7 separate regions of the Homo sapiens genome follow, and all the other regions are linked to region 3. Evidence: promoter capture Hi-C in 16 types of primary human blood cells and fetal thymus (Javierre and others, 2016). All regions are on one chromosome and are shown on one strand. The core of a region is centred on a gene start or on the middle of the fragment in contact, and the rest is flanking DNA. Distances in the headings are between cores, read along the strand shown.

Evidence for each region. Contacts are between HindIII fragments. The CHiCAGO score rates a contact against its expected background, and 5 or more counts as called.
Region 1: a contact is called between a fragment that was not itself captured here and the fragment with the promoter of SLC41A2 in region 3, in 2 of 17 cell types (non-activated CD4 T cells and total B cells). The highest score is 5.2, in non-activated CD4 T cells.
Region 2: a fragment that was not itself captured here is called in contact with the fragment with the promoter of SLC41A2 in region 3 in 1 of 17 cell types (neutrophils); the score reaches 6.3 in neutrophils.
Region 4: a fragment that was not itself captured here is called in contact with the fragment with the promoter of SLC41A2 in region 3 in 3 of 17 cell types (naive CD8 T cells, total CD8 T cells and total B cells); the score reaches 5.4 in naive CD8 T cells.
Region 5: a fragment that was not itself captured here is called in contact with the fragment with the promoter of SLC41A2 in region 3 in 17 of 17 cell types (naive B cells, naive CD4 T cells, total B cells and 14 more); the score reaches 14.4 in naive B cells.
Region 6: a fragment that was not itself captured here is called in contact with the fragment with the promoter of SLC41A2 in region 3 in 1 of 17 cell types (monocytes); the score reaches 5.0 in monocytes.
Region 7: a contact is called between a fragment that was not itself captured here and the fragment with the promoter of SLC41A2 in region 3, in 2 of 17 cell types (naive B cells and total B cells). The highest score is 5.5, in naive B cells.

Annotation. Positions count from the first base shown.
Region 1 is chr12:104,352,585-104,355,284 of GRCh38, forward strand. No RefSeq gene overlaps it. Among named protein-coding and RNA genes, the nearest start is that of EID3, 50 kb to the left of the region's middle. The HindIII fragment of the contact is 6,179 bases long and covers 1-2,700 here.
Region 2 is chr12:104,333,364-104,336,063 of GRCh38, forward strand. It overlaps TXNRD1 (thioredoxin reductase 1), which reads left to right. Exons shown (of 17, transcript NM_001093771.3): 15 at 874-969. Among named protein-coding and RNA genes, the nearest start is that of EID3, 31 kb to the left of the region's middle. The HindIII fragment of the contact is 3,413 bases long and covers 1-2,700 here.
Region 3 is chr12:104,956,869-104,959,568 of GRCh38, forward strand. SLC41A2 (solute carrier family 41 member 2) reads right to left here and starts at 1,422. Exons shown (of 11, transcript NM_001352171.3): 1 at 1,220-1,422. RefSeq lists silencers at 811-1,140, 1,331-1,600. The HindIII fragment of the contact is 5,296 bases long and covers 1-2,516 here.
Region 4 is chr12:104,290,190-104,292,889 of GRCh38, forward strand. The region is part of intron 4 of TXNRD1 (thioredoxin reductase 1); the gene reads left to right. Among named protein-coding and RNA genes, the nearest start is that of TXNRD1-AS1, 11 kb to the left of the region's middle. The HindIII fragment of the contact is 1,331 bases long and covers 721-2,051 here.
Region 5 is chr12:104,372,953-104,375,652 of GRCh38, forward strand. No RefSeq gene overlaps it. Among named protein-coding and RNA genes, the nearest start is that of EID3, 71 kb to the left of the region's middle. RefSeq lists enhancers at 1-600, 2,163-2,674. The HindIII fragment of the contact is 638 bases long and covers 1,129-1,766 here.
Region 6 is chr12:104,395,856-104,398,555 of GRCh38, forward strand. LOC105369949 (a long non-coding RNA gene) reads left to right here. Exons shown (of 4, transcript XR_007063432.1): 4 at 2,324-2,700. Among named protein-coding and RNA genes, the nearest start is that of CHST11, 60 kb to the right of the region's middle. The HindIII fragment of the contact is 8,929 bases long and covers 1-2,700 here.
Region 7 is chr12:104,306,522-104,309,221 of GRCh38, forward strand. All of the region lies in intron 4 of TXNRD1 (thioredoxin reductase 1), which reads left to right. Among named protein-coding and RNA genes, the nearest start is that of EID3, 4.1 kb to the left of the region's middle. The HindIII fragment of the contact is 2,945 bases long and covers 1-2,700 here.

The DNA.
Region 1 (2,700 bases), core at 178-2,677, 600 kb before region 3:
GCTGGTGGGGATGTAAATTATTCAATCACTTCGGAAAACAGTGAAGATCAGCATATCAAACATTTCGAAAATGATTTGAAATTTTTTTACATGTTTTAACAAAGCCAGTTTATTTTGTAGTTTTAATAAAAAAGGTGCCCTTTTTGTCCCTGGATTCACTTAGCATTCATAATTTTTTTTAATACAATGAATTTAAATTGCTAAAAGATCATGGACTGGCTTTCTGGTTGGATTTCAGGTAAGATGTGTTTAAGGCCAGAGCTCTTCCTCAATATTTGTTTTTTTCCCAATATTTGATTTTTAAAATATACACATAGATGCTACATTTATAGCTTCTGGCTTAAAATTCTGTCATATGTCACGTCTAGCCTTTTAGTATGGTAAATCATGTTTTACTTCTACTTAAACATTAATAATTTGGAGTATCTGTTACTAGTAATAGTAATTCTATAATTGTATAATTGAGTTTTGTACTTAACACACATAGGTCATTCCTCATCTATCATTTGCACCCAGTGCAGTTTCATTTTTCAGATACCATGATGCAAAATAGAGTTTTTCATCATTTAGGTGTAAGCAAAAACCCCCCAAACCAAAAAATGATACTGGCCGTTACCCAGTAGAATTAAACGCATGGATAGCTCATGACCCAGCTGTTACACGCTTAGGTGAATACCCAGCACAAATGCACTGTCTACGTACCTAAAGACTTGTACAGGAGTGTTCATAACACTGTTATTAATTGCAAAACAAAATAAATCCCAAAAACAAACGTGGAAGCAGCCCAAATATCCATCACCATGAGAATGGGCAAATGAGTTGTGGTGTGTCCATGTAACAGAAGACTAACAGCAGGATATATGTAACAAAATAGATCTAAGAAACAGTATTGAGTGAAAAAGTCAAAGGAGTATGTGCAATATGATTTCATTATGTGTACAGAGAGGCAAAGCTAAGAAATACAGTGTTTAGAGATAAAATTGTAATACCCTAAGGGAAAGCAAGAGAATTCAAAATGATGATCATAAAATAGAAGCTAGTAGTTACCAATGAAGGGGTAGAACAGTGGATGGTGTATTAGTCTGTTTTCATGCTGCCGATAAAGACATACCCGAGACTGGGTAATTTATAAAGAAAAAAGGTTTAATGGACTCACAGTTCCACGTGGCGGGGGAGGCTTCACAATCATGGCAGAAGGCAAAAGGCACGTCTTACGTGGCAGCAGACAAGACAGAATGAGAACCAAGTGAAGGGGATCTACCCTTATAAAACCATCAGGCCTCGTAAGACTTACTCACTGCCACGAGAACGGTATGAGGGAAGCTGCCCATGATTCAATTATCTCCCACCAGGTCCCTCCCGCAACGCGTGGGAATTAGGGGAGCTACAATTAAGATGAGATTTGGGTGGGGCCAAACAATAGAAGATGGGATTAGGAAGGGGCAACCATGACTGAAAGGTCGCTCAGGACTTGGGCATTTGTTTATCAGTATTATCTATCTATCTATATATTTTTTATTTGGTTCTACCTTAAACTATTAAGGGATAATATCTATATTTTTAATAAACTTTTTAAAACAAGCAGCTTAGAAGAGGTGGGGGTGGAGGGTGCAGCTTGGAGTACTGGCAGAATACTAGGTAATAGGAATATGTCCATCAAGTTTTCACATACAGAAATAGACCAGACTAGAAAGAAAGATGCTACAGCAGAAGGCCCTTCCTGACCATCACCTACCATGGTTCCAACATCAGTCTGAAGTCGAGGAATGGGTTAAACATGCACTAAATTTTGGGGTAATTTCTGACACAGCAATAGATAATTAATACGTGGGAGTTGGAGAGGGAGGTTACAGAACAAGTAGGCCAGGCCTTATACCCCCTTTATATCACAGCACTCAACTTTTAACATTTTACAAGATTTTATTTAGGAAAGGAAAAGGGATGCATTAAGTTTTTAAATGTGAGGTTCCGTAGCAAGGAAGCAGGGTTTCCCTGCAGTACCCTTCCTGCTAATACACTTCACTGATGCGTTGACACATTGCCTTCTGGGCACTTTTTTTGTGCCACAAGATCTCACAAGGAGCTGAGCAGAGCAGACTAGGATGCTTCTGTGTCCCTTGGCCCTCAAAGTGAGCATGGTCTTACCAGTGAACGTCCTTTAGTACAGTTGTTCATCTATCCAGCACTATTTCATAGTATTTGAGATTGGAAAGGGAGGTCAGCTCCTCCAAGTCTGTTTGCAGATGCAGAAACTGAGAGCTAAATAGGCAAAGCTACCGAGTCAACATCAAGTTCAAGGTTAAACAGCCAAACACAGAAGCCAGTTTTAACTTCCAGTTATCTATTTTTCCACGCCACCATCCTGCCCATCATCATCTTTGTAGATTCTCCTACATTCTTAAACACACCCAGCCACGTAAGCACACTTTTGATTGCAGTGCAATTGAAGAGCGTGAAGAAAGCATACATTGCTTATAAAAAAAAAAAAGCCGACAGGTCCTTGGCCCTGCAGTCCACATGTGGTAGGTATGCGGGAAACACATCCTACAGACCTCAAGTGAGGCATCAGAAGTCCTTGCCATTGGCTTCCTTTTGTGTATGATGGTGATACCCTCTTGTATGTCGGGAAAATGAGGTAGAACCTGCCTAATAATTGCAAAAGCAAACAGTCTGGGTGAGTGTGTGCTAAGTCAGCAGAGT
Region 2 (2,700 bases), core at 104-2,603, 620 kb before region 3:
AGTTGAAGAAACTTTGAAAAATGTAAGGGAAAGAGGAAACAATTACTTATGGAGTTAGAGCTGTAACAGCAATTGTTAGCAATTTGGGGTGATTCCTTTAATTTTTTTCCTATATAATTGTGATACTATGATACTGTACATTAAATTTTGTAACCCATGTTTATTTTTAAAATTATATTATTTATCACAACATCGAAGAACACTTGTTATGTCTTCATAATCAGTTTGCTCGTAAAAGGTAGCGAATCATGTTTTGAACTGAGGCTAGCAGCTGGAGGAAAAAAAAAATCCATTTAGTCAACCAGCAATTAAATTAGTAAGGATGCTGTCGTTCCACCCTTCCTTCCTCCTTTCCTTCCCTATCTCCTTCCTTCTTTCCTTCCCTATCTCCTTCCTTCATTGCTTTTAGTGAATAATGCCAAAGGAGGAAATGTCTTTTGGAAGCATTTAGCAAGAGAACTAGATAATTACCTTAATTGATCCTGGCACCTTATTTGTTTCTTGCCCAAGTTGTCATTCACAGTGGATAACAAGATAGTATTGAGTTTGGGTGTGTGTGTGTTTTCAATGTATGACAGCAGGTAATTAAATGGCTTATTTCTGTCATTCCCTTGCTCTTTTTTGTTATTAGTTAGGGTGTACTATTTTGAGGTAGAGATATACATAATTAAGGGATGAGCTTATAGCAAAAGTGCCTGACAGCAAGGAGTTGAAAGTCATTTACCTTTTGACCAGATTCCTATTTATTCCATGAATTTTATTATTTAATGAAAGTCTACTTATTAAAGAGTCTCTACTGTCTTTCACCATATATGTTTGACAGACTTAATGTTTAAAATAATGGGTCTAAATTTTGCTTTTGTATCTTCTTAGGTTTACCATAGTTACTTTTGGCCATTGGAATGGACGATTCCGTCAAGAGATAACAACAAATGTTATGCAAAAATAATCTGTAATACTAAAGACAATGTAAGTTTAATTCTCAATCCTTTCCAGTAATTTTATTTAGTTGTTGTTTTTTGTTGTTGTTTTTTTTTTAGATGGAGTCTTGCTCTGTTGCCCAGGCTGGAGTGCAGTGGCGCTATCTCTGCTCACTGCAACCTCCGCCTCCCGGGTTCAAGTGATTCTCCTGCCTCAGCCTCCCAACTAACTGGGATTACAGACTTGCGCCACCACACTGGCTAATTTTTGTAGACGGGGGTTTCACCATGTTGGCCAGGCTGGTCTTGAACACCTGACCTCGTAATCTGCCTGTCTCGGCCTCCCAAGGTGCTGGAATGTACAGGCGTGAGCCACCATACCCGGCTTTAGTTTTTAATATATAGCTTAGTTGGTCACATGGTGCAGATGGCATTCCTTCAGTATTTCGCGTGCCAGTTGTCTCAGCTGATAGATATCAGCAGCTGGCAAGGACCTTGGCTGCACTGCCTGCTGCCCCCTCATCTTCACTGGCACAGGGCCCTACACTTAGTCAACAGGCAGCCAAAACTTACTGAGTGAAGGAACCAAAGGCACAACTTGAGAACTGTCTATGTTTGTGTTTATAGAAGAGGAACAATAAAGTCATCGACTATCTAAATATAATGAATAACAAAAAAGAACAGGAGCAATGCACGTTTGATCCTCAGCAGCTGGCACTACTAAGAAAGAGCTCTTAATTGAGTTCTAAGATTTCATTGCCTGATGCTACATGTAATGCTAGTCTGGTGTTATTACGTGTAAATCTAATGTATTTTAAGTGCTTTTTAGTAGTCCTCCCACAGATATACTTTATTCATACCATAAACCCCCAACTGTCCAGGTGAATAAGAGTACAATATGCAATATATTACAGTCCTTTTTTTTTTTTTTTTTTTGAGACGGAGTCTTGCTCTGTTGCCCAGGCTGGAGTGCAGTGGCGTGATCTTGGTTCACTGCAACCTTCGCCTCCCAGGTTCAAGTGATTTTCCTGCCTCAGCCTCCCAAGTAGCTGGGATTACAGGCACCCACCACCATGCCCAGCTATTCTGTATTTTTAGTAGAGACGGGGTTTCACCATGTTGGCCAGGCTGGTCTCGAACTCCTGACCTCAGGTGATCCGTCTGCCTTGGTCTCCCAAAGTGCTGGGATTACAGGTGTGAGCCACCGCGCCCGGCCTATTACAGTACTTTTTTAGCAGAAACCTGTGAAAGCCTGTGAGCAAACTCTATACCTCACAGGGTTTTTTTCCATATATATGAAATGAGGGATTGGATAATTCATATTTTTTAAAGTTTTTTGACTGTGGGACACTGGTATATTCATATACACACACTCTCTTTAATATTGACTCTTAAGAAAACTGATCTTTTTAACTTAGCTAACACTTTTTAAAGAAACGACCTCAGTAAAAATATAAATGATGTTAAAGAATCTGTATGTTAAAAGCCTAGTAAACTGATAATGTTTTAATCTTGAAATTTGAATATAATTAAGCCATGTATCCTATTTGGAAACTACTGCTTTAGGCAGTAGGACAGTTACAGGTTGGTTTTTTGGTAAAACCAAGGGTTTTAGAAAACATTTTCTTGAATCCTCTGCAAAAAAGATTCAAATGAATATACTAGGATAACCCATAATGAGCTACACAGCTAACATAAATAACAATTGTATATATAGTTGTCTTTTTCTTTTTAGGCAAATTTTCTCAAAAGTTTATTTATATGAGTATACATTAGATAT
Region 3 (2,700 bases), core at 172-2,671:
ACTACGATGGCTATCATAAAAAATAACCAGTAAAAAAGTAACAAGCCTTGGGGAAGATGTGAAGAAATCGGAACCCTCATACACTGCTTAGTGGGAAAGTAAAATGGTACAGCTGCTTTGCTTGGCAGTTCCTCAAAAAGTGAAACACGGAGCAATTGCCCTCCTAGGTATATACCCAAGAGCACTGAAAACACATGTCCACAAAAACGTGTAAACAAATGTGCATAGCAGCATTACACACAATGGCCAAAAACTGGAAACAACCCAAATGTACATCAACTGATGAATAAACAAATGTGGTACACTGATACAACAATATTAATATGCTATAAAAAGTAAAGTACTGATACATACTACATGAGTGAAACTTGAAAACATTACAGTATGTCTTTCGACGCCAGACACAAAAAGCCACATATTGTACGCTTCCATTTATATGAGATTTCCACAACAGGCAAACCCATATAAACAGAAAGTAGATTAGTGGTGGCTAGTGGGGTGGGGTCAAGGGGAAATGAGGAGTGATTACTAAGAGAGACAGGGTTTCTTTTGGGGATGATGATCTGGATAGTGGTCATATTTGGAAAACTCTGTGAATATATTAAAAGCCACACTTTAGAAGAATGAGTTTTATGGCATGTGATGTATATCTCAATTTAAAAATTGTCACTACAAAAAAAAGATGACATATATACGTAATATACACATCAATGTATATCGGTAACACATAGATATGTGTCATCTCTCTCTGTAAATGAGCATTTGGGCTTTTAAATTTGAGATATGCTCCGTGTATATAAAGAGAAGAATGAAAGAAAAGGGTGACGGGGCACTCGCGGAGCCCTGAACAGGCATCTGGGGTGTGCCCGAGCCAGCCTCGCAGCATCTCCATCCCAGCTCACCTTCAGCCATCACTCATACACCACCCGCCGCCTGTCCCTGCCTTGGGCGCCCGGGACCGCTTGTCCGCGGTGGCCGCGGAACAGCTTCCCTCAGCCCGAGGTGGGGCAGGCGCGGGGGCCTGGGCTCGGGCGCTGCCCGGCGGCCCGGAGAGGCGTCCGCAGGGGGCACGGCTGCTCGGGCGGGGCCGCTCCCTCTGCTCCCCGCGCCCCCGCCGCCGGGTCCCGAGCCCAGGCCTCTCGGCCCCACCTCCCTCCCGCACCTGATGCGCCCGAACGCGGCGCCGCGGCCGAAGCCGAGACTTCCCCTCCATGGTCACCTGTTCCGGAGCGCGGCGGCGGCAGCGGCCGGTGTGAGAAGGGTCCCCGTCTCCTCAGACCAGACCGAGACACCAGGGGCGGGGGATGGAAGGGGCATTCACCTGGTGCCCGGCACCGGTGGTGGCGGGGAGGACAGCGGCTCCCAGCCCACAGCTCCTTCCTGCTCCCGCGCCTCCTCGCGCGGCTGCGGCCCCAAGCTGACAGCCCGGCCGTCGGCGCCCGCGGCCCCCTGACTCCCCGCCGCCCCGCCCCCGCGCGGCAGCCCCGCGCAAGCGCAGCCGCGCCGCCGCCGGGGAAGCCCGGGCCTTGGTGATGTGGCCCGCGGGGCGGCGACCCGGAGCGACAGCACCGCCCCGCCCGGACCCCGGCCGCGCCCTGGCAGACAGCTGTCGGGAACGGGGGCGCTGGATGACGGCAAGGGGGCAGTTTTCTGGGGAGCCTGCCCAGGAGAGAAGGGCTGTGGCCTCCTTCGGCATCCCTCTTCCCCACCAGCCCACGCACGCCCACTTCACCGCCTGCTCCAAGGTCCGAACCCCCGAATCCATGACTCATGATTTCTCTTCTCAGACCAGCGGCCTCTTTTTGGCTGAGGTCATGTTTCTTGCAGACTGGAGTTAAAACCGAACCACGTGTCTTTCGGCCCAGCAGCGCATAGTGTGGGCGGTGCAGGAGCCGAGACGGGCAGGAACCACCGCAGGAGGGGGTGAGGTTTAGGGCAGCCCCATAGCACCCTCCCCGTGCCAGGCAGGTGTAGGCGCCAAGCGCATGGGGCGCTGAAGAGTTGGCTGGGGTGCCAGGCTTTTCAAGTTTCCCCACACTTGCTTTTAAACCTAGATCAAACTGATCCAAAGTCTGCATGTAAATCCGAGAGCTCATTTATTTTATTTACAAAACTATTGAGCATCTACTGTGTATGATTCAGGGAATGAGACACACCCCAGGGATACTCCAGTGAACAAAAGAAAGGTGTTGGTCCGAAGACAGTTATTTTAAAAATTACACAGCTAATGCCATAATGCCAGGATTGGTGGCTCATGCGTGTAACCTCAACACTTCGGGAGGACCAGGCGAGAGGATCGCTTGAGGCCAGGAATTTGAGACCAGCCTGGGCAAACACAGCGAGACCTGGAGTGGCTAGGAGACTGAGGTGGGAGGATCGCCTGAGCCCAGGAGTTCAAGGCTGCAGCGGGCTATGATCGCATCACTGCACTCCAGTCTGGGCCACAAAATGAGACCTTGTCTCTAAAACAACAACTCAAAATTACACAGCTAATGATACTCTTTTCCTCAAATCAAAGCTTCTACCAATTCCAAGCCACACCAGTGATTTAGTAGCAGCTTTTCTGGTGCTGAAGGACACCAGCATACATTTATCCATGTTCTTTTTTTTTTTCCTTATGCTTTGCGATCAGACTTTGAGCTTTAACCTTAACCTTCAGGGTGAAGGGTGCTTCGGTATCACTCTTGGCCATCTGCAGTC
Region 4 (2,700 bases), core at 136-2,635, 670 kb before region 3:
AATAATTTGAATTTTTATTTATTACCTTTTCTTTTAAAAGTATTTTATTTATTTTTGACAAATGGTTATAGGGAATGGATCTAGACTTCAAACAGCAAATTAATGGAAAATTAATGGAAATACAGAGGCTTTTAGCTTTAGTTAAAATATATTGTGTTACTCAGACCTTTAGTTTGCAGGTAAAAAGAGATAACGGTCTATTATATTAATATTCCTTCCTGGCCGGGTGCGGTGGCTCACACTTGTAATCCCAGCACCTTGGGAGGCCGAGGCAGGCGGATTGCTTTGAGCTCAGGAGTTCCAGATCAGCCTGGGCAACACGGTGAAACCCCGTCTCTACTAGAAATAAAAAAATTAGCCAGGGCTTGGTGGCACATGCCTCTGGTCCCAGCTACTCTGGGACTGAGGCTGAGGCTGGGGAATCAACTTGAACCTGGAGGTGGAGGTTGCAATGAGCTGAGATTGCGCCACTGCACCCTGGCCTAGGTGACAGTGAGACCCTGTCTCAAAAAAAAAAAAAAAGAAATATACATATATATATATATATATATATATATATATATATATATGTATATTTCTTCCTGTCTGATTATTCTATTATTTTCACCTGTGCCATAAGTTTACATTTACAAAGTTATATAGTAATTTGATCTTTATGTAATTCTACTGATACTCCTGGTTTTAATGGCAATGGGAGTAAAAAGAGTCACTCTTTTTATAAGCTTTGGAACTCACTTAATTGATTTGGTCTGATGTTCTGATGTTTTTTCTTTTTTTTTAATTGAAAACTTTTTTTTCTTTAGAGATGGAGGTCTCATTATGTTGTCCAGGCTGGTCTTGAACTCCTGGGCTCAAGCGATCATCCGGCCTCGGCCTCCTAAAGTGCTGGGACTGCAGGTCACGACATTTAGTGAGGTATAGTGCCATGAATGAAAAGCATACCATCAAGAACACTTAAAAGAAATCATTTAGCATATTTCTTAAGTAAACTTATTCTACTTTGTGTCTTTTTTTTTTTTTTTTTTTTTTGAGACAAAGTCTCGCTCTGTTGCTCAGGCTGGAGTGCAGTGGCATGATCTTGGCTTACCGCAACCTCTACCTCCCAGGTTCAAGCGATTTTCCTGCCTCAGCCTCCCGAGTAGCTGGGATTACAGGCACACGCCACCACACCCTGCTAATTTTTGTATTTTTAGTAGAGATGGGGTTTCACCATGTTGGTCAGGCTGGTCTCGAACTCCTGACCTTGTAGTCCAAAGCGCTGGGATTACAAGTGTGACCCACCGCACCCAGCTTTTTTTTTTTTTTTTTTTTTGAGAAGGAGTCTCACTCTGTTGCCCAGGCTGGAGTTCAGTGGCGCGATCTTGGCTCACTGCAACCTCTGCCCCTCGGGTTCAAGTGATTCTCCTGCCTCAGCCTCCCGAGTAGCTGGGATTACAGGCGCCTGCCACCGTGCCTAGCTAATTTTTGTATTTTTAGTAGAGACAAGGTTTCACCATCTTGGCCAGGCTGGTCTTGAACTTTTGACGCCGTGATCCACCCACTTCGGCCTTCCAAAGTGCTGGGATTATGGGCGTGAGCCACCGGGCCCAGCCCTATTTTTGTTTTTTAATGAGTGCTAAAAAATGAAAGGAGAAACAGCAAGGTAAGGACTATTGGTTTGAAAGATCTGTGAACTTTTCAGCCAATTATTGCCCACATTTGGGGCTAAATGGTAGGTTTTGAAACCCTTAAGGGAGCTTTGGGTTTCAGTGGAGAAAGGCATTTATTTAGTGGAGAATTGAGTGCTTATAGTCCTAAAGGCCACACCTTTAAAAAGAAGGTTAAGATTTCATACTTTAATTGCAACATAAATAATGGAGGGAGCTCTTCAAAATGTCCACTTTTCCTTTCTCCTTTTAATATTGTTTCTTCCTCATCCCCTTTTCCCTGAATAAACAACAGCAGCAAAACCTACCCTGCTTTCACAGTGAGTGTACTATAGAAGACAAGGGAGAAAGAATCCTGCTGGAAGAAGTTGGTGAGCCTAGGTGACTCCCTTGATAAAGGATGAAAGCTTTGCAGAAGAGTGTTCCAAAAAAGTGTAGTCTCCAGACCACCTGCTCAGAATCCCCTGGAGTACTCGTTAATTATGCATGCCCAGGCTTTACCCGAGTTCTTTTGAAGTAGACTCGGGAAAGAGCTAGGAATCTACCCCCGCCCCCCCGCCTTTTTTTTTTGAGATGGAGTTCTGCTCTTGTTGCCTGGGCTGGAGTGCAGTGGCATGAACTCAGCTCACTGCAACCTCCACCTCCTGGGTTCAAGTGGTGTGGTTCTCCTGCCTCAGCCTCTCAAGTAGCTGGGATTATAGGCATGCACCACCATGCCTGGCTAATTTTGTATTTTTTTAGTAGAGATGTGGTTTTGCCATGTTGGTCGGGCTGGTCTCGATCTCCTGACCACAGGTGATCCACCCACCTCGGCCTCCCAAAGTGCTGGGATTACAGTGTGAGCCACCACGCCCGGCTTGCCTTATTGTTTTTGTTTTGTTTTAAATAAGCTCCCTCCAATAATTTTTAGGATAAATGTCAAGTTTGAGACGCTTTAATATTATTGTACATAGGGTAGTTTGATCAAGATCATTTGATGAGATAATTAGAATTGCGGAAAACAAAGGACTAGTCTTTAATACCCAAAACATATTTGTTAGAAAACAGCAAATAG
Region 5 (2,700 bases), core at 198-2,697, 580 kb before region 3:
TACCAAGACTTCCCTGGCCCGGAAGGACCTCTGACAAGGCCCTGGAAGCCCAGCAGGGCCAGGCTGGGCTTTGAGAGGAGATGAGTGTTAGGAGTGCGTGTCAGGTGGGGGAAGGGAGCTGTAAGCAGCAGAGACTGGCCAACCTTGCCCATGAGCTTTAGGTCTCCATCTATGTGTCCATGCAGAAGGGCCCCCAGAGGAGAGCAGCATCCCGGCCTCTGTCAGGAGAGGAGAGAGTTACCCGATTTAAGGAGCTCAGGAGAAAGAGTGAGTGTGCTCAGCTCATCCCTCCCCTGTGGGAGCCAGCTCCCACCAAGGGTGAAGAGGGTCAGGCCCTGGGGTTGGGGGTGGATGGAGGTCTGCAGAGGTCCCCCAGCAGCCCCTGTGAAGGATGGGCAAATTCGTTTGTGCACTGCAGTCTTGGCAGCCTTGCACATTGTCCCCAGCTTCCCGTTCCCCAGCCTACCTCTTTTTTTTTTTGTTTTTGAGACAGGGTCTCACTCTGTCGCCCAGGCTGGAGTGCAGTGGCGCTGTCTCGGCTCACTGCAAGCTCCGCCTCCCGGGTTCACACCGTTCTCCTGCCTCAGCCTCCCGAGTAGCTGGGACTACAGGCGCCCGCCACCATGCCCGGCTAATTTTTTTGAGTTTTTAGTAGAAATGAGGTTTCACCGTGTTAGCCAGGATGGTCTCGATCTCCTGACCTCATGATCTGCCCGCCTTGGCCTCCCAAAGTGCTGGGATTACAGGCATGAGCCACCACGCCCGGCCTCATCCCCAGCCTACCTCTTGTAAAAATGAGCTGCCACTTTGCTGTCCATCCCTGGGACCCTGGCAGGCTCCATGAGTAGGCAAGAGAGGGGTGTGGTTCACCAGCCCCACCTCCAACAATGTCGGGAAACTCTGTGTTCCATCTCCTCCTGAAGCTGGCAGCCCTCAGTGTATACTTTCTCAGCTGCAAATGCTACCATTTTAAACTCAGAGGATTTTAAAAAATATATTTGAGCCTCACACAGGAAGACCCAAAAATTATTAAAATATAGAACATTTAGACTGTGGGGCAGAGACTGCATCTGTTCTGTTCACTTACCCCTAGGTCCTAACATACATAGTAGGTACCCAATAAACATAAGCTTAGCAAATGACTGAAAATTAATTTAAGCAGCTCATATGTGAAAAGAGCATATACACAAAGATGTTCATTGCAGCATTGTTTATAATGGTAGAAAATTATTTTGTACAATCTGGTTAAGAAATCTGTGGTATATGAATGCAATGAAATGGCATGCTATTATTAGAATTAACAAGAGGACTATCAAACCAGGAGAACAGGTTTACGGGATGTTGCTAAATGAAATTTAATAATACTGTGATTTAAAGAATGTAAACGTGTATATCTACATAGATGAAGATTGAAAGGCCCATTTAGAGATAAAGTCATTGCTGTGTAAAATTAGCAGCAATTAAGAAACACCTTTGGTAATGTTTTACAGTGGATTCTAGAATATGTTTTAAACTCTTTTAAAGAAACCCCTGCAGTATTTTCTAAACAGATGAGATGGTGGTTTGCTATTTTCCAGAGTCCATTGAGTGAGCTGTGAAAGGCCCCATTGGATAGGGGGCTTCTGGAAATTTCCATCTCCCCACCTCCTGGTGGGTAGCAACTCAGAGCTGGCAAAATTATTCTTGGCAAAGGCAATCTCATGTCAGAAAGAGTTCTCAGTGCAAAGAGCCTTTAGCAACAGAGGTGCTAGAATCTGTGTCGGTGAAGCTTTGCAAACAGCAGGGATTCCACAGAGGCCTTTTCAGGCCTTTATTTCCCACTCTGTACCTTCTCCTCCTTCTTTTTTTTTTTTTTTCCCAAGTTTTGTAAACATCCCAGGGATGATTTTTGTACTCCCCCAGGTCTGTGGGAGTCGGATGAGATGGAAAGAGGCCTCGCATTGTCCCTGCAGACCTGTATCCCTTCCGGCCACCCCTGCTGCCCTCACACTCCCCTCCCACCACAGCACCCACCTGTGGTCTGACAGAGGACACCACACCTTTGCCCATTCTCACACCCCCTCCCGCTGGACAGCCCCTGTCCTTAATGAGGCAGCTTGATGTTTTGTGGGACCTGCTGGTGTCCTGCCCAGGGAGGGGTGTGAGGGGTGGTGGGCTGGCCTGCTCCTGGAACTGTAGCATCAAACTGTTCAGGCTTTCATTTGCAACAGCCACACACTGGGACACCAAAATAGGTCCCGGCGGAGATGTGGGTGGGGCTGGCCTGGGCTTGGCCCCACCCAAGTAGGGCGCCAGGGAGACAGAGTGCCCCAGCACCACCAAGGTGGGCAGAAGCCATGTGGGGCCACTGAGAGAAATTCCACTGAGGTTCCTGTTGGGCCTTCCTTCCACCCAAAGTTTTGGACCTTCTGCTTGAGTGAATTATAGTGGGAATTCTGGGCTTTGGCTTTGGGGGCTGCCAGATGAGAAGGGTCTTAGTGTTCAACTGGTCCCACCTGGCACTGCGGGAAAAGCAGAAGCTGTCACCTCCCAGCTCTGCCATTTACTAGCGCAAGTTGTTGAAGGCCATCGATTCAACGCCATTTAGGTGTGTGCTAAGCGTTACATACACCTTATCCTTTGTCATCTCCACAGCTCTGGCATGGGTGTACTCTTCAGAGATGACAAAACTGAGGCCCAGAAAGGGTGAGTCACTGGCCC
Region 6 (2,700 bases), core at 182-2,681, 560 kb before region 3:
AGAGAGAGAGAAAAAAAAAGAGAGAAAGAGCAACTGGGATCAGAGACTGCTAAATTCCACCATCTGATACCAGCTTCTTGCTGTCTAAGAGGATGTTTATGGAATTAATATGGTTTGGCTGTATCCCCACCCAAATCCATCTTATCTTGAATTGTAGCTCCCATAATCTCTATATGTTGTGGGAGGGACCCAGTGGGAGGTAATTGAATCATGGTGGCAGGTCTTTCCCATGCTATTCTCGTGATAGTGAATACATATCACGTGATCTGATGGTTTTATAAAGGGGAATTCCCCTGCACACTCTCTCTTGCCTGCCACCATATAAAACGTGCCTTTACTCCTCCTTCACCTTACACCATGATTGTGAGGCCTCCCTAGGAACGTGGAACTGAGTCCATTAAACCTCTTTTTCTTTATAAATAAGCCAGTCTTGGATATGTCTTTATTAGCAGTGTGAGAATGGTCTAATACAGAATGTCCATGGATAGGAGCCTCAAAGAGGTGCATGGTACTTCCTCCCTGACAGTACTTTCTCCCCTGAGACTTCCTTGCTGTCTGCCATCTGCCTTCTGCACCCAAATGTTTATGAGCATCTGAATTTTCCAGCTATCATGAAAAGAAATTGCCCTGAATCTGCTTGCAGTATGCACTCACTTCAATTCAGTACAAATTTTCCAGAATTTCTTGGTACTTTAGCATTGCATTCATTGACTGAAAAAAAAGGTAGAATTTTTTGAAAAAATGTGTAAGTAATTTAAAGCATTATTGTTGCATTAAATTCAATGCAGCTACATTACTGGGGAATATATGAAATCCAGGTGAATCTTAAAGTGAAAACTAAGATGAGCAGATACATTTCTAACTTCCTGGTCAGCTTCAGTCTAGACCTCCAAGCCCCCAGGGTTCAGTGATCATTTTTGCTGCCCCAAACGATACTGGTGTGGAAAAGTTTGAGGCGCTCTAGGTTACAAAGAGTCCCTTGAGCCTCTTGGCCATTGGTCATTAAGCAGAAAAATACACCCGGTTCCTTCTGTCCTTGGCTGCCTCCCATTGCTGTTTACCCATGACCATGGTCTGCCCATTGGCAGGCAGGGTCTTTTGGAGTTAAGGGCTTCCTTGGCAGAGTGTCCCCTGTAGTTTTAGACCAGGAGGTCCATGGAGTGTGGTTTTCAAGGCTAAGTCAGAGACCACCCCAGAATTTTGAGGCTGAAATGGAGCCTGTTCCTTTGGCCAATCTCACCTGGTTTTGGTATAGGAGGGGTTAGGAATGGGTAGTAGGTGGCTAGAGCTGTGATGGTCTCCATTTAGGAGCCTAGTGAAACCAACAGAGTCTATACTTATGTGTGTATAGATGATGGAATCTTTGACATTCTTTGAATAAGGTGTTCCCTTAGGTTTTTTTTTAAAAAAGAGAACATATTTCCATGTATTTTAACATTTATTCATTCCACAATATTTGTTTTGTGTGTGCTGCACTAGGCCTGGGGAATACAGCAGCAAACAAAACAGGTAAAAACCACTGCCCTCACAGAGCTTACATGCTAAGGTGGAGAGAGAGCAAATTTAAAAGACGATTAAATATCTGGAATGTCTGATGGTGATTGCTGCTATAAAGAAAAATGAGGGAAGAGGAGTGGGAATATGTGTGTCTGTGGGTGAGTTGCAATTTTAAGTAAGATGGTTAAATGCCACTGAACAGGTGACATTTGAGCAAACCATCAGCAAACTGATGCTGAGTCAATTGCTTTGAAGTTGCAGCCTGCTGGACTGCCTGAAGTATTGGATAGAGGATATGAGAGAAGGTGAGAAATTGAGGATGACTCCAATGCGGTAGGCAGTTTATGACACAGCTCACAGTTACCCCCACCTCCTGGTATTCATGCTCTTGTATAACTTTCTTCTTGAGTCTGTGATGGACCTAGTGACTTTTTTTTTTTGAGACAGAGTCTCACTCTGTTGCCCAGGCTGGAGTGCAGTGGCGTAATCTGGGCTCACTGCAATCTCCACCCTCTGAGTTCAAGCAATTCTTCTGCCTCAGCCTCCCGAGTAGCTGGGATTACAGGCGTGCGCCACCACGCCTGGCTAATTTTTTGTATTTTTAGTAGAGACAGGTTTCACCATCTTGGCCAGGCTGGTCTTGAACTCCTGACCTCATGATCCACCCACCTTGGCCTCCCAAAGTGCCGGGATTACAGGCGTGAGCCACCGCACCCTGCCCGCCCTTTTTTTTTTTTTTTTAATCATGAATAGATTACGGCAAAGTTGATGGGATCTCATTTCTGTGGATATATCACCAAGATTGTGACTTCTGTCTTGCTGGCAGATTCTCTCCATTGCTTTCTTGGCTTTAACACTTCAGTGAAGCAATCTGCCTTGTTGAGAGGCCCACATGGCAAGGAACTGAGGGCAGCCCCTGACCAACAGCCAGCCAGGAACTGAAGATGTCAGTCCAACTACCCCTGATGAACTGAATCTTGAACCACGTGAGCTTGGAGTGCATCCTTCCCAGTTGTGCCATGAGATGAGAGCACGGCACCAGTCAACAGTGTGACTGTTCTTTGAGAAAGACACCAAAGCAGAGGGGACAGCTAAGCCATATCCAGATTTTTCACCCACAAAACTGAGATAATACATGTGTGCTTTTTAAACTGTTAAATTTTGGGACAATTTGTTATGCCACAATATATAATTAATACACAA
Region 7 (2,700 bases), core at 106-2,605, 650 kb before region 3:
TCCTAGTAAGTCTAGTGGTACAGGAAAGGGAAATCCAAAGACTCAACAAATGACACCAAGACTGAGAGGAAGGATTTTTCATGTATGGAGATGAGGTTCTTCACCAATAATAGAGTAGAGGTTTTAGCAAAAATAGAACTTTCTCATGAAACTTGGCAAATTATTTTCTAAATTAGTTACTCCTTTCACATATGAAAGAGCGCTGACCCTTGCTAGTGTCTAGTATCCTTTGATTTATAGTAGCAGTCATGGAAGCACCATTTGATCTCACTCATCCTCATTTCCAGCATGTCTCTACCAACCAAGTTCCTTGGGTTTTGCAGAGATCTGCTGTTGGAAGAAAAAGTACTCTTAATGACAGCAAAAAGATCCCGCCCCAGTACTTTACTGACATTCAGTTGCTCTGTTGAATGTCTCATGTCTTTACTAGGAGTATTTGACAGTGATGATTTAAAAGCATTAATAGAGAATCTGGAGGCTTAGGAGAGGTAATTTTTTTGGTCTTCTCTAAAGTTAATAGCTGTTAAAATATAAAGTTGACCACTTCTGTTTCTATTTTTACTGGTTGGCATGACACCAACCAGTAAAATGATGAGGATGATGGATTGCCTCATCATTTTTGAAATTTTGAAATTAAACTGACTGCTTACCTTGAAGAAAAAAGGAGATTAAAAATTTATAGAGGTTAAGAATCAAACTGCAAATCTGCTTGTTTCTTGCTAATACGTTTGTATACTGAATAGAAATAACATTATGCTAGTCTGTCTATATACTGGATCAAGATTTGTTAGGAAGAGGGCATTTCAAAATAGTGGAGATTGACGCAGGGAAGCTCAGCGGAGGACACCAGTGTAAATACATTCCAGCACTTCTTGACTTAGTTCCAGGCAATTTCCCTTCTTCAGGAGATGGAGAATTAGTAACTTAAAGGGATTAATTCCTACCAGCCACTATGCTAACATGCATTATCTTTCTTAAACTCAGCCATTTGATGAGGTCAGGAACCTGTTAGCTTCGTTAAGGATTAGGTGATTGGTCGAAGTCACCTGGCCTTGTGAGTGGTAGAGCAAGTATTTTAACGCAGGTTATTTCTGCATCAGAGCCATCTATAATGGTAGGGGAAATAAAAGTACAAATCTGGCAAAGGATAGAAACTATGTTTAGGGGAAAAGTCAGGATTGCTTATTCCAATTTTAAAAGACTGCCACAGTTGAATTGCTTTCTGTTTTGTGCCCTTTTTGGGGGAGCCTGGAGCAGTGTTTTACTAGGAGTGGGTCTGGGGAAAGGGATTACTATGACAGGCAGGTGGATGAAAAGGAAGGCTATCTAATGTGTAAGCCTTGCCAACAAGTGACAGTTGCCTGCAGGTCATCTCATATTCTATAGCATTGGTTCTCAAAGTGTATGAGGCCCTTTTGGCATACTTTAAGGTCAGAATTATTTTCATAATAGTAAGATGCTGTTTGCCCTTTTCTTTCTTTTTTTTTTTTTTGAGATGGAGTCTCACTCTGTAGCCCAGGCTGGAGTGCAGTGGCATGATCTTGGCTCACTGTGAGCTCCGCCTCCCGGGTTCACGCCATTCTCCTGCCTCAGCCTCTCGAGTAGCTGGGACTACAGGCGCCTGCCACCACGCCCAGCTAATTTTTTATATTTGTAGTAGAGACGGGGTTTCACCGTGTTAGCCAGGATGGTCTCGATCTCCAGACCTCATGATCCACCCGCCTTGGCCTCTCAAAGTGCTGGGATTACAGGCGTGAGCCACCACGCCTCGCTGCCCTTTTCACTCTTAATTCTCTTGCATGTAAACTGTGAAGTTTTCCAGAGGTTATATGACAGGTGATGTGGCAACAGATTGAATGGAGAAACAGATATGAGCTGTCTTTTGTTGTCAGACATTAAAGAGAATCGCAAAGATACAAAACAGTGCCATTCTTCTAATTAAAAAATTTTTTAAAATAAAAATACGTTAACATTTAATAAATATATTATTTTTAATTTGTTAATGAATATTTTAAGTTTCTTCTTAGTTTTAATTTCTAATATAGTAAATAGATAAAACCCACATTAACAAGCTCTTTGGAGTCTCAATTTTAAAGCTCTGTTTAAGATTGTAAAGGAGTCCTGAGATGAAAGAGTTTGAGAACCTCTGTAGCAGCCACCACAGTCAGCGGACATAATTTCAAGCAGTTGTAGTTGGAGGAGGATGGGGGAATTTTTCTCCTTTCCTTATCCCATCTCTGTGCTACCTTCTACTGTTTGGGGCAGCTGTTTTCTACTGTCTGTCTTATTTATATTTCAGGTGAAGTACCACTTAAATGGAACTGAATGATAGCACTTTCAATTTTAAGTTTGGTTAAAATTTTAAAAACAATGTTTCTTTTTTTTTTTTTTTTTGAGACGGAGTCTTGCTCTGTCACCCAGGCTGGAGTGCAGTGCCATGATCTTGGCTCACTGCAATCTCCGCCTCCTGGGTTCAAGCAGTTCTCCTGCCTCAGCCTCCCGAATAGCTGGGACTACAGGTGCACGCCTCCACGCCCGGCTAATTTTTTTTGTATTTTGGTAGAGACGGGGTTTCACCGTGTTGCCCAGGCTGATTGTGAACTCCTGAGCTCAGGCAGCCCTCCCGCTTCGGCCTCCCAAAGTGCTGGGATTACAGGCATGAGCCACCTCACTCAGTCTCATAATGTTTCATTCTAAGGT